Regions from separate parts of the Homo sapiens genome. Here regions 1 and 2 are each linked to region 3. The links are contacts of gene promoters, found by promoter capture Hi-C in human tissues and cell types (Jung and others, 2019). All regions are on one chromosome and are shown on one strand. Each heading gives the region's core, a stretch centred on a gene start or on the middle of the fragment in contact. The rest is flanking DNA. Distances are from core to core; before and after follow the strand shown. Region 1 overlaps MPPED1 (metallophosphoesterase domain containing 1). Region 2 overlaps LOC105373053 (a long non-coding RNA gene). Region 3 holds the start of MPPED1 (metallophosphoesterase domain containing 1).

The links. Contacts are between HindIII fragments. The study calls those that stand out against the background at their distance.
Region 1: a fragment that was not itself captured here is called in contact with the fragment with the promoter of MPPED1 in region 3 in 2 of the 25 tissues and cell types used here (aorta and dorsolateral prefrontal cortex).
Region 2: a contact is called between a fragment that was not itself captured here and the fragment with the promoter of MPPED1 in region 3, in 8 of the 25 tissues and cell types used here (IMR-90 fibroblasts, adrenal gland, dorsolateral prefrontal cortex and 5 more).

Annotation. Positions count from the first base shown.
Region 1 is chr22:43,455,569-43,459,773 of GRCh38, forward strand. The region is part of intron 3 of MPPED1 (metallophosphoesterase domain containing 1); the gene reads left to right. Among named protein-coding and RNA genes, the nearest start is that of MPPED1, 46 kb to the left of the region's middle. The HindIII fragment of the contact is 9,403 bases long and covers 1-4,205 here.
Region 2 is chr22:43,370,062-43,374,523 of GRCh38, forward strand. LOC105373053 (a long non-coding RNA gene) reads right to left here. Exons shown (of 4, transcript XR_938288.3): 4 at 3,933-3,971. Among named protein-coding and RNA genes, the nearest start is that of LINC01639, 28 kb to the right of the region's middle. RefSeq lists an enhancer at 1-73. The HindIII fragment of the contact is 5,607 bases long and covers 1-4,462 here.
Region 3 is chr22:43,410,659-43,415,372 of GRCh38, forward strand. MPPED1 (metallophosphoesterase domain containing 1) reads left to right here and starts at 1,356. Exons shown (of 7, transcript NM_001044370.2): 1 at 1,356-1,500. The HindIII fragment of the contact is 18,974 bases long and covers 1-4,714 here.

The DNA.
Region 1 (4,205 bases), core at 345-2,844, 45 kb after region 3:
AGACAATTTTTAGCCTATAACAGGTGAAACTGCCATCACTAGAGCTATTTTCTGTTTCCGACATACTTTTCAGAGCATTTTTGAATCTGTTGCAGGAAGCTATGGAAACCCATTCATAATCTCAGCAACATAACTACTCAGTGTAATTTCTCCATGTTGAATGATCAGCTATCAGCATTACTGTTGATTCTTTGAAGATAATGTGCCCTTTCCTCCACCCCAATTGCTTGAAAGTTTCTTGTCTTTGGTTTCAAGCACTTTGATTATTGTGTTAATTTCCTGAGGCTGCAGTAACAAGTTATCACAAGCTTCTTGGTTTAAGATAACAGAAATGTATCCTTTCACTGCTCTGGGGGTCAGAAATCTGACATTCAGGTGTCGGCAGGGCTGTGTTCCTTCTGGAGGCTCTGGTGAGGGAGAGGAAACAGGGAATCCTTCCTTGCCTCTTGTAGCTTGTGGTGGCTGTTGGCAACCTTTGGCTTCCTTGATTTGTGGCCACAAGATCATGTTTCTCTGTGAATAGAGACAGTTTTATTTCTTCCCTTCCGTTCTGGATGCTTTTATTTCTTTTTCATGCTTCATTGCCCCAGCTAGAACCTCAAGCATAATGTTGAATAGAAATGGCAAGAGTGAATGTCCTTGTTTTGTGACCAATCTTAGGAGGAAGACTTTTAGTCCTTCACTATTAAGTATGATGTTAGCTGTGGGATTTGTAATATGTATGTATTTATTTGTTTATTTAGAGACAGGGTCTCATTATATTGCCTAGGCTGGACTTGAGTGCCTGGGCTTAGGTGATTCTCCTGCCTCAGCCTCCCAAATAGCTGGGACTGCAGGTGTGCACCACCATGCCCAGCTCGCTGAGGGACCTTTAGAGATGCTCTTTGTCAGGTTCAGAAGATCTCTTCTATTCCCAGTTTGTTACGTGTTTTTTGTTTTGTTTAGAGACAGTGTCTTGCTCTGTCACCCAGACTGGGGTGCAGTGGTGCAATTTTGGCTAACTGCAACCTCTGCCTCCCAGGTTCAAGCGATTCCTGTGACTCAGCCTCCCAAGTAGCTGAGATTACAGATGTGCAGCACCATGCCTGGCTGATTTTTGTTTTTTTAGTAGAGACAGAGTTTTCGCCATGTTGGCCAGACTGGTCTTGAACTCCTGGCCTCAAATGATCCATCCACCTCAGCCTCCCAAAGTGCTGGGATTACAGGCGTGAGCCACCGCACCCGGTGTGTGTGTGTATGTGTTTTTAAATCATGAAAGGGTGTTTTATTTTGTCAAATGCTTTTCTGTGCCTGTTGAGATGATCATATGGTTTCCCCCTTATTATTACGGTATATTACATTAATTGTATGTTGAACCAACCTTACATTCCTGAGTTCAATCCCATTTGGTGATGGTGTATAATACCTTTTTATATGGTGTCTAATCCTTTGTTGCTTGATTTGACTTGCTAGTATTTTTTTGAGGATTTTGAGCCTATATTCAGAAGGAATATTGGTCTGTGGTTTTCTTTTCTTGTGATAGCTTTGTCTGGTTTTGGTATCAAAGCCTCCTAGACTGAGCTGGAAAGTGTTTTCTCCTCTTTTGCTTTTTGGAAGAGTTTGTCAAGGACTGGTGTTAATTCTTGAAATGTTTGATACAAATCGCCAGTGAAGCCATCTGTTGCTGGGCTTTTTATCATTATAAAATATTCTTCCTTTTCTCTAGTAACAATTTTTGTCTTCAAATCTATTTTTTTCTGATGCTGGTATAGCGACTACAGCTCTCTTTTGGCGTCTGGATACTGTTTGTATATCTTTTTCATTCTTTTACTTTCAACCCACTTGTTTCTTTGGATCTAAAGTGTGTCTTTTATAAACAGCATATAATTGGATTTTTAAAAAATTAAAAATTTTAATCTCTGCCTTCTTTTGACTGTACTGTTTAAGCATGTTATGTTTAATATAACTACTGACAAAGTAGGATTTATATCTGCCATTTTGCTTTTTGTTCTCTATATATCTTATATATTTTTTGTCCATCTTTTCTTCTATTACTGCCTTCTTTTGTGTTAAATAGATATTTTCTAGTTCACTATTTTAATTTCATTTCTTTTACTATATTGAAAAATTGTATTAGTTGTTGCCCTGGGCATTATAATTAAATTTTTTTTACCTTATAACAATCTAGTTTTGATTAATAGCAACCTAATTTCATAAATATACAAAAACTGTGCTCTAATGTAGAGTTCTATGCCCTCCCCCTCCTTTATGCTATTATTGTCATACAAATTACATTTTTGTGCATTATAAGCTCATTAACACAGTTTTATAACTACAGTCATGTGCTGTGTAATGATGTTTCTGTCAATGACAGACTGCATATACTACAGTGGTCCCATAAGATTATAACACTGTAATTTTACTTACTTTTCTATGTTTAGATATACAAATACTTACCATTGTGTTACGATTGCCTGGAGTATTCAGTACGATAACATGCTGTACAGGTTTGTAGCCTGTAGTGATAGGCTGTACTGTATAGCTTTGGTATGTAGTAGGCTGTATGATCTAGGTTTGCGTAAGTACACTCTGCTGTTTGTACAATATCAAAATCACCTAATGGTGCATTTCTCGGAATGCATCTCTGTCATTAACAGTCCATGACTGTATTCCTTAGTGTAGTTGTCTTTTAAACTGGATAGGAGAACAAAGGAGTTACAAACAGAAATACAATTGTACTGTCTTTTTTTTTTTTTTGAGACAGAGTCTCACTCTGTCACCAGGCTGGAGTGCAGTGTTGTGATCTCGGCTCACTGCAACCTCTGACCCCCTGGTTCAAGTGATTCTCCTGCCTCAGCCTCCCAAGTAGCTGGGATTACAGGCACGTGCCACCACACCCGGCTAATTTTTATATTTTTAGTAGAGACGGGGTTTCACCATGTTGGCCAGTCTGGTCTCTATCTCCTGACCTCGTGATCCGCCCGCCTCAGACTCCCAAAGTGCTGGGATTACAGGCATGAACCACCGCGCCTGGCCTGTACTGTCTTTTATATTTACCTGTGTAGCTACCTTTACCAGTGCTCTCTATTTCTTCATATGGATTTCAGTTGCTGTCTGGTGCCCTTTCATTTCAGTCTGAAAAAGTCTATTCAGTATTTTTTGTAGAGAGTGTCTGCTAGTGACAGATTCAGTTTGTTTCTGTTTATCTGGGAATGACTTAATTTCTCTATTTTTAAAGGATAGTTTTGCGGGATGTAGAATTGCTGGTCGACAGTCCTTCTTCCTAGCGTTTGTATATCCCACTGCCTTCTGGTTATTGTGGTTCCTGATGAGAAGCCAGCTGCTACTGAGGATTATTTGTGTGTGATGAGTGATTGTCTGCTTTCTGACAGTTTGATTATGATGTGTTTAGGTGTGGACCTCTTTGAGTTTATCATGTTTGGAGTTACTTGAAGTTCTTGGATGTGTAGATTAATGTTTTTCATCAAATTTGGGGAGGTTTTGCTATTGTTTCCTTTTCTTTTTTCTTTTTTTATTTTGTTTTTTTGATAGAGTCTCACTCTGTCACCCAGGCTGGATTGCAGTGGCTCAGTCTTGGCTTATTGCAACCTCTGCCTCCCAGGTTAAAGCAATTCTTGTGTCTCAGCCTCCCAAGTAGCTGGGACTATAGGTGCACCGTGCACACCACGATGCCAGCTAATTTTTGTATTTTCAGTAGAGACGGGGTTTTGCCATGATGGGGTATTGCCAGGCTGGTCTTGAACTCCTGGCTTCAAGTAATCCACTCACCTCAGCCTCCCAAAATGCTGGGATTACAGGCGTGAGCTATTGTTTGAGAATACAGCTATTGTTTCTTTAACTACTCTTTCTGTCCCCTCTCACTTTTCCTTTATGGCTCCTCTTACGCACACATGAGTGCACCCAATGGTGTCCCACAGGTCTCTGAGGCTCTGTTCATTTTTCTTCATTCTTTTTCCTTTCTGTTCCTCAAACTGGATGATTTCAACAGATCTGTCTTCAGGTTTGCTCATTCTTTCTTCTGCCAGCTTGAAACTACTGTTGAGACCCTCTAATGAAAATGTTGTTTTAGGTATTTTACTTTTCAACTCCAGAATTGGATTCTTTTTTATAGTTATATCTCCTTATTGATGTGCTTTATTTGTGAACACATCATTCTCATAATGTTCTTGAATTCTTTAGACAGTTCTCTAGTTCTTTGAACATAT
Region 2 (4,462 bases), core at 1,268-3,767, 39 kb before region 3:
AGCTGTGGGAGGACCCCTCATTTGCAACTGACATCGATAGGTCAAGCCCAGCAGCCCCTGAATGAGCAGGAAGATTGGTGCAGCTGGGGTCTTCCACAGGCAGGCGATTCCCTCCCTGCTGGGATCGTCAACCAATCTGGGGCCGTAACTCACACGGGGAACCACCCCCAACCCCCAACCACCGTGCTTGGTGTTGGAGGGCCAGAGGGTGTCTCCCAAGTCAAAGACAAAGTCTCCAGGGCAAACAGGAAAAGCCATGGCTACCCCGTCCCCGGGGCCTCACCTGGCAGCCCTGGCTTGCAGGCTCTGTCTAGGATCCGGGAACAGTGTTTATTTCTTCTCTTTATTTTTAGCTTTTATTTTCATGAAACTTATACAGGCAAATAGCTCTACAAGGTTTGTTAAGAGGAACAGCAGTTCCCTGTTCCTGTCCTTCACCCCCTCCTGTCCCCTCCCCAGAGGCAACTATTTCACCTCCTTTAACCAATTATTTTGTTTTTACCCTGTGTCATTTGCCTCTGAGACTGCATCTTTTTTTTTTTTTTTTTGTGACGGAGTCTTTGCTCTGTCGCCCAGACTGGAGTGCAGTGGCATGATCTCGGCTTATTGTAATCTCTTCCTCCTGGGTTCAAGTGATTTTCCTGCCTCAGCCTCTTGAGTAGCTGGGATTACAGGCGCCCGCCACCACACCTGGCTGATTTTTGTATTTTTAGTACAGGTGGGGTTTTGCCATGTTGCTCAGGCTGGTCTTGAACTCCTGACCTCAGGTGATCTGCCTGCCTCAGCCTCCCAAAGTGCTGGGATTACAGGCATGAGCCACTCTGCCTGGCCTCTGAGACTCCATCTTGATTTTTTTTTTTTTTAGTTGTCAGCCTCATTGGTTGACCTCTGTTTCTGGAAGGTGAGGATATCGCTGCCTCCTGACCCCTACTCACTGTGCGCACCTGCCCCCCACCCTCAGACCTGTTTTTAGGACACCAGCATTGTCAGTGGTGAAGGGCATGGAGTTCTAAGCCACTTTTCCGGGTTCTAGTCCTCCTTCTGCCACTTAGCTGTGTGATCCTGGACAAATTCTTCAGCCTCTTGGTTGATTGCCTTCTACCTGGCCTTGCTTTCAATGAGTCAATTCATGTAAATGGCTTCCAGCAGCAAATAAATGACTGTCCTCTTTGTCAACCTTTTCCGCACAGTCGCACTCCCTACCCCGACCCCAGCAAATCATTTTCGTGGTTTCTCCTTTGCATCGTTCTCTAGACAATTGTTGCTAGTTCAGTCCTGCCCTTTCCTCGCAGGGCTTCGAGATGCACTGGGGTCTTCACGCCCATCTGCCCAGGGAAGCTGGAGCCTGGTGCCCCATGCCTATAGGGCATCCCGCCTCCAGCAACCTGGGATCCCCCTTGCCTTTCTCTTTTTCCCATATCCCATATTTTCCTCTTTCTTGATTTAGCCCTTATTCTAGTGAAGTATCTTCTCTAGTAATCTTCAGAGAAAGCATGTAAGGAAAGCAGTCTATTCTCATTATTCACACCAGTTACGGTCTATAAAGTCACCAAAAATGCTGAATTACCCAACACTAAGCCAATGCTCCAAGAGGGAAATACAGGGTTCCATTCCTATGAGTCTGGGGTCACAGTGTTGTCACCAACTGATCAACACATAACTTTGTTTTATATATATTTCTGTTTAAAGATACCCTATTTAATATATATTGTTGACTCATTAACACTGAGCTCATGGCCAACAGCACTCTAACTCCTGCCTGAACGAAGCTTCTCTAACGTGGGCTTTCCCTGTAAGGCATACCCCAGACTTCCTGCACTTAGGAACACTAGACAGCTGTATTAGTCCATTTTCATGCTGCTGATAAAGACTTACCTGAGACTGGGCAATTTACAACAGAAAGAGGTTTAACTGGATTTACAGTTCCATGTGGCTGGGGAGGCCTCATAATCATGGTAGAAGGCATGGAGGAGCAAGTCCCATCTCACGTGGATGGTCGCAGACAAAGAGGAAAGGAAAATTCCGCTTATAATAACCATAAGATCTCGTGAGACTCACTATCACCAGAACAGCACGGGAAAGACCTACCCCCATGATTCAATTACCTCCTACTGGGCCCCTCCCACAACACGTGGGAATTCAAGATGAGATTTCGGTGGGGACACAGCCAAACCATATCAACAGCCCTTCAGCACTGCGCTTGGGGGTGGGGGTCATTTAAAACAGTGAAATCAGCTGGGCACGGTGGCTCAAGACCAGCCTGGCCAATATGGTGAAACCCTCATCTCTACTAAAAATACAAAAACTAGCCAGGTGTGGTGGCGCTTGCCTGCAACTCCAGCTACTAGGGAGGCTGAGGCAAGAGAATTGCTTGAACCTGGGAGGCGGAGGTTACAGTGAGTGGAGATCACGCCGCTGCATTCCAGCCTGGGTGACAGAGTGAGACGCTGTCTCAAACAAAACAAAACAAAACAACAACAACCAAAAAATCCAGGCCAGGCACAGTAGCTCATGCCTGTAATCCCAGCACTTTGGGAGGCTGAGGTGGGTGGATCACATGAGGTCAGGAGTTCAAGACCAGCCTGGCCAACATGGTGAAACCCCGTCTCTACTAAAAATATAAAAATTAGTCAAGTGTAGTGACATATGTCTGTAATCCCAGCTACTCGGGAGGCTGAGGCATGAGAATTGCTTGAACCTGGGAGGCAGAAGTTGCAGCGAGCTGAGATCGCGCCATTGCACTCGAGCCCGGGTGATAAAGCGAGACTCCATTTCAAAAAAAAAAAAAAAAAAGCCAAAAGCAAAACCAAACCAAAACAAAAAACAATCCAGTGAAATATCAACAAAAAGCACAAAAAATATGAAAAACATGACACTAACTAGACTGCAAAAAGGACACTTGTTTACATCATCAGAGTCAAAACAAGAAGGCAGAGGGTCACCTTTTTCAACCTTAGCTGGAAACATGCACATCAAGTGACTCAAATTTTTGCTGCTGTACGCATGTCTGCAGATGACTGCAAAAGCTGTGTGGATACTAGTTTGGTGGTTACAAATATATTTTATTGATTAAATGAATTCAAAAATATGGAATCCAAGAATAATGAGGACTGACTATATGTGTTTCAAGACCTTGCATGTCTAAAAATCTCTTCATTCTATCCTCTCATTTGACTGATAGCTTGGCTGGGTAAAGAAATATAGGTTGGGGCTAGGCGTGGTGGCTCACACCTGTAGCCCTAGCACTTTGGGAGGGCAGATTGCCTGAGGTCAGCGGTTCGAGACGAGCCTGGGCAACGTGGTAAAACCCTGTCTCTACTAAAAATACAAAAAATTAAAAAATTAGCCAGGGATGGTGGCACGTGCCTGTAGTCCCAGCTACTCGGGAGGCTGAGGTGGGAGAATAGCTTGAACCCAGGAAGCGGAGGTTGCAGTGGGCTGAGATTGTGCCACTGCACTCCAGCCTGGGAGACAAGAGCGAGACTCTGTCTCAAAACAACAATAATAACAACAACAACAACACCACCCAAAGAAACCTAGGTTGGAAACACTTCTCCTTCAGCATTTCATAGCATTGCTCCTGCACCTGCTGGCTGTCAATGTTGCTGTCAAGAAGTCCAGAGCTATTCCTGCCATTTCTTCTTCCTGGAAGCTTCTCTTCATCCTGGAGGCTCATTTTTCATGATGATGTGTCATATTAGGGCTCTCTTTTTATGGCTTGCCTGAAGAAGTACTTGGTGGATCCTTGTACTTTTTAAAATTTAGGTCCTTTAATTTTGAAAAACTCCCCAAATTATTTATTAATCTCTTCCCCCACTTTCTCTGGTCTTTCTGGACCTTCTGTTAACTGGATGTAGGCTGGGTGCAGTGGCTCACGCCTGTAATCCTAGCACTTTGGGAGGCTGAGGTGGGCAGATTGCTTGAGTCCAGGAGTTTGAGACCAGCCTGGGCAACACGGTGAAACCCCGTCTCTACAAAAATAAAATAAAATATATAAATAAATAAATGGATGTCTTGAACTGCTCCATTGTTTTTTTCCCCACTTCTGTATGAAGTCTCTCCAGAGAAACAGAACCAACTGTGTGTGTGTGTGTGTGTGTGTGTCTCATGAGAGAAGTCCCGCAATCTGCTGTCTGAAAGCTGGAGACTCAGGAAAGCTGGTGGTATAGCTCTGAGAACCCAAGGGCTAATGGGGTTCCTGTCAGTCCTAGTCTGAGGGCAGAAAAAGACCCACGTCCAGCTCAAGCAGTCAGGCACACAGCAAATTTGCCCTTCCTCCACCTTTCTGTTCTATTCAGGGCCTCAAGATTTGGATGGTGCCTGCCCACATTGGGGAGGGCCATCTGCTTTACTCAGGCTACTGAGTCAAATGTTGATCTCCTCAGGGAGGACCCTCAACAGACACATTCTAGAATAATGTTTAGCAAAATATGTGGGCACCCCACGATCCAGCCAAATTGAT
Region 3 (4,714 bases), core at 106-2,605:
CTGATAAAGTCTATCCAAGGCTCTTCCCGATCTGGCTTCTGTTCCCTCACTCCCAGCCTTGCCACCTCATCTTCCCTCCCTTGCTTTTCCTTTGTCTCTAGCCCCAATGAACTCACATGCCAAGGCCTTTGCATGCCGCATTCCCTCGGCCTGGATGTCTTTTCCAGGCCTTCTCTCCTGGCATACACTCATTCAACTGGGCTGTCCCCACCTCCAGGAAGCCACACCAGATAGCAGTCCTCAGGGGCAGAATAGGCCTGAGGGGCCCGCAGAGGGTGTCCTTGGGGATTGTGTGATGTGTGTGTTGGTGAAGGGAGACCCTACAAGCATTTGTTGAGGGGCTTTGGGCCTCTGAGGAGCCACAGCCCCTTTTCATCTTCCTCTCAGTCTGGGAGGCCCAGGCCAGAGTGATCTGCACCCTAACTATACAAGGCCCTGGAATCCCCGTCCCACCCGCGGCAAGGGGCTGGAAGCCACAGGGCCTTAAACTCCCCAGGGTGACCCCCGACACTGAAGGCGATGGTCTCTGCTCTTCCCAGCAAGGCAGGGCCTCTTTACACTGGGTGTCGCGCCGTCTGAGTTCCTGACTTGTTTACCCATCCCGTTGGGGCTCCGGCCGCTGCAGGCTACCTGCTGTGCCCGGGATTGGGGACCTGTGACTCCCGAGTGGAAGAGATGGTGGCCCAGGAGGAGGACCCCGACCTATTCAGACTGGGAGCTGGGGTCAGAGTGTCTCCGTCTCCGGAGGGGGACCTTCCAGACCCCGGGCGGGAGGGGCCCACAGCAGGGTGCCCCGGCGGCCCCAGGAGGGGGTCCGGGCCTCGGGCGAAGGCTGCGGCGCCCCGGAAGGAGCCGCGCACGCCCCTGCACGCGGTGCCCGCTGCGGAGGCCACGGATCCGGAGGTGAGAGCGCCCCCGCCCCGCTCCCTGCCCAGCCCGCGCGCGGCCCGGTCCGGGGCTGGGGGCGGGCGCCAAGAGGGGCGCCGGGCGCAGTGGGGCGGCCCCCTCCCTTTTCCGCAGCGCGGGCCCCGCTCCTCCTCCCGCGTCCAGGCCCGCGGCCGCGCTCCCTGTCCCTCCGCAGCGGGATGCGGACTCCGAGCCCGGGCGGGGGCCGAGGGCCGAGGCCTGGCGGGCCTGGCGGGGGCCCCGGCGGGTGGCGGCGCAAGGGCCGGGACCGAGGCCGCGAGCGCGCCCCTCCCGGCGGCCGGGCGCGGAGAGGCGGGGAGGGCGGGCGTGGGGAGGCGGGCGGCGGCGGGCGGGGGGAGCCAAGGAGGCTCGGAGCCTCGCGGCGCGCGGGCGGGCGGCGGAGGGGGCGCGGGGAGCCCCCCGCCCCACGAAGGAGGAGTCTGGCTCCCACTTGCAGCCTCGGACGCGCGGCGAGGCGGCCGCCGCCGGAGGAGCCCCCGCCCCTGCGCGCCTCCCTCCCGGGAGCCCCTGCCTCCCTCGGTGCGCGCTGCTGCTCGCAGCCGCCGCGGCCGCCGAAGAGGAGCCCGGGGCCAGGTAGGACCGGAGGCGGGCGGGGCGCGGCGGGCGCGGGCGGGAGGCCGGGCGCGGGGCGCGGCCGGGACCCTCTCCAGGCGCTGGGCGACGCCCGCGGCGCTGCGCAGGGGCGCCCGCAAAGTTACTTTGGCCGCCTTTGCCGGGTGCGGGAAGCGGGCTGGGCACCCCAGCTGCCCCGCCTGCCTAGCGGGCGGCGGCGGGAGGGGGCTCCGCCAGGGCGCGGGACTCCGGCTGGGGCCGCGGGGTCAGCGAAACTTTTCCCTTGCTCGCCAGTCGCTGCTGCTGCTGGCGGAGTAGCTGGTGGAAGCAGCGGGCTGGTGGAGTGCCAGTGATGATGATAGTGGTAACAATAGCAGCCCCCGCTTGTAGAGAGCCTACTGTGTGCGCTGCCAAGCCCCTGCTGGCACTTGGGGGGGAAGAGATAGGGAACGAACGCTGGCCGAGTGGCCACTTTTGCTAGGTATTGCTGGAAACTTCATCCATTTCCTTCCATCCATTCATCCCTCCCTCCCATCCATCCATCCATCCATCCATCCATCCATCCACTCACTCAACACATATTTATTCCTGTCTGCTATGTGCTCGGCCAGGGGATTCAGTGGCTACCTAGACAGGTCCCAGCCCTCAAAGGGAATGTTGATCATGGAATGCCCAAACTAAGGAGCAGTTCTGTCTCCTGTGTGTTTGTTCTGGGACATGTTACGGGAGCGTGAATTCATGCTGTCTCCCTTCACCCTGGCAGGGCCAGAGGCGTGTCATTCAGAGCACTGATGTGCCCAGGAGTCTGGCAGGCCCCGGCCTGGCCTTCGGAACTCACCCTGCTCCTTTCCCTCCCACCTCTCCGGGCTCAAGCTGGGTGGCCCAGTTGGTGTCAGGAGGCTCCACTCCGGAACTGGCCCCCACCCCTGTCCAGCTGACCTCTCTGGGATGTCTCTTCCCCAGTGCTGGGCTGGCCTGGCTCCCAGCTCCCCTCCCAGAGTTTCTTTGCCTTCCCCCTCCCCATTTCCCCTGCTCTATTGAATGGCCCAGAGGAGAGCTTGTTAAGTGGCAAACAATTATGAAATTAAACTGGGGGAACAAAAGTGGGCTGGCTGTTGAATGGCGGAGCTGGCTCACGGGAGTTGAATGGCACTGGGAGACTTGTTAGCAGGGATCTGCGGCGCCGGGGGGCGGGGGCGGGTCAGGCAGACAGGCACTGTCAATAATCTGACTGGACTTTGCAAAAAAAAAAAAAAAATTAAACCAACTTGGTGAGAAACCTGGCACAGGGCGATGTTGGAGAGGCCACCAGCTGACTGCCACGTCCAGTCGGAAGCCAGATCTTGGTGTACAGGAGCCAGGGCTCTAAGAGACTATTTGGGGAGGGTGCTGATGGATTCGGCCGGGCTGAGGCAGGGGAGAACCTCAATGCGTTTGAGCTTGTGGTGCTAGGGAGGCATTCTGGAGCCAGGCGCAGTCTGCAGGGGCCCTCTGTGTGGGAACCACGCATGATAAACTGCGCTTCACCGTGCTGGGCTCCTTGCAAATTGGCTTTCTGAGTGGCAGCCCCACAACACTTGTAAAATCTTTTTCTGGAGATGGATTTCGGTGGAATGGTTCCATCGATTCTAGTGCTTGCTCACTGGAGGTACATTAATTGGGCGATGGCTAGTCAAAAGGCGATAATCCAGTCACGGAGGCTTAATCGTGTGTTCGGAAGTGTTTCAGTGTGGGACTGCCTTCCTATTTATTTCTCGGCCCCAGGAATTTCGGAAGACCTGGATTGAATGAGGTCCCTGTACTGGTGATGTGGATGGGTTCAGAGAGTCACCTACATGGCCGAGGAGGTACCTCTGATGTAACCACCCCGTGGTACGCTTAGAATCACTCACATCCACCCTGGCTGATGCCCCGTGGGCTATGCCTGTAGACAGATAGGACAGGTTTAGATCTAGGCGAACAATAAGAATTTTAGGGTGTTTTACTTGAGCCCCAACTGTCAGGAATACACAGACTGATGTAGGGAATCATCGTTCTTGAAAAGCCTGCTTTTAATAAATTCCCAGCTCACCCATGAGACTCTTAAATCTTCATCCAATGAATGTGGCTTAAGTTCATTTGTTCTTCTTTGAACTTTGCTACCTTCCCAACTAGGCAGTACGGGCCTTGGTATGCTCACTTTATACAGGACACATCTCTCTCTGCTTGTTTGAGGAATGACGGTGGTCGCTGGGATTCCGTGAAGGGCAGCATTAAGGAGAAAAATCAGCATTCTGGGTGCGGGTCTGGACTTCTGGAAAAAAAGAAAACCCTCCCCAAAGTGCAATCATCTTTTAGTCTATCAAAATGACTTCATTTTCCCAATTTCAGGCCTGTGAACTGATCATGAATACCGGGGGCAGAGGAAATTAATCAGCCAGGCAAAGACTTTTAACAAGTAAATATTATGCACAGAAAAACATGCAATTAGTGGAGGTTAGTTAATGCCTTTCAAGTTGCATCAGGCTGCAGTTAAGGGTGGAATTTCTGCGTTATCCCTGGATTGTCTGTCAAAGTCTTTAATGTGACAATGTGACATGTCTCTCCCATCGCCCCTCCCTCACCGGGAACAAAAAAGGGTCTTTTCACGAATTCCCCCTTTCCATTCTTCTTCTCCCTGAGATCTTTCCGTTCAGCAATAAGTACCTTTGTCTGCCTGCCCTTCTGGAGCAAGGGTCCTGGGGCAAAGGGCTCCCCAGGTGCAGAGGCCTGGGAATAGCTTCTCAGGCTCCCTCCGTACCCACAGATCAAAGTCGATGGCACCTCCGATAAGAGGTAGGGGCCTTCCTTCTGGCCTGGGCGCCTCACCCTCTAGGACCAGAAGTGTCCAACACTTGGGGGTGGCAGGGAGAAGAGGGGATGAAGGCACTGTTTCCCACAGCAAGAACCGTTTAATGTAGCCTGGGGCACTCCGAAAGCCATTCCCTGCAGCCCTCGTTCTTGCTGTGTGGATGTCCCCATGTAATGAGACCATCAGTGAGCATCCCTTCCAGACTGCCACTGAAGTTGTCTGACTTGAGTTTGAAGAGGTGACTAAAATGTCAAAAGCAAAAAAAAAAAAAAAAAAAAAAGGAAAGAAACAAAAAACCCAACAGGAAAAAAATAAGAGACCCCTTTTTGGGGGTGGTATTGGAGGAAAGGTATAAATTGCTTCTCAGTTAATTTGATTCACCATGGTTCTCCCTGGTGACCTGAC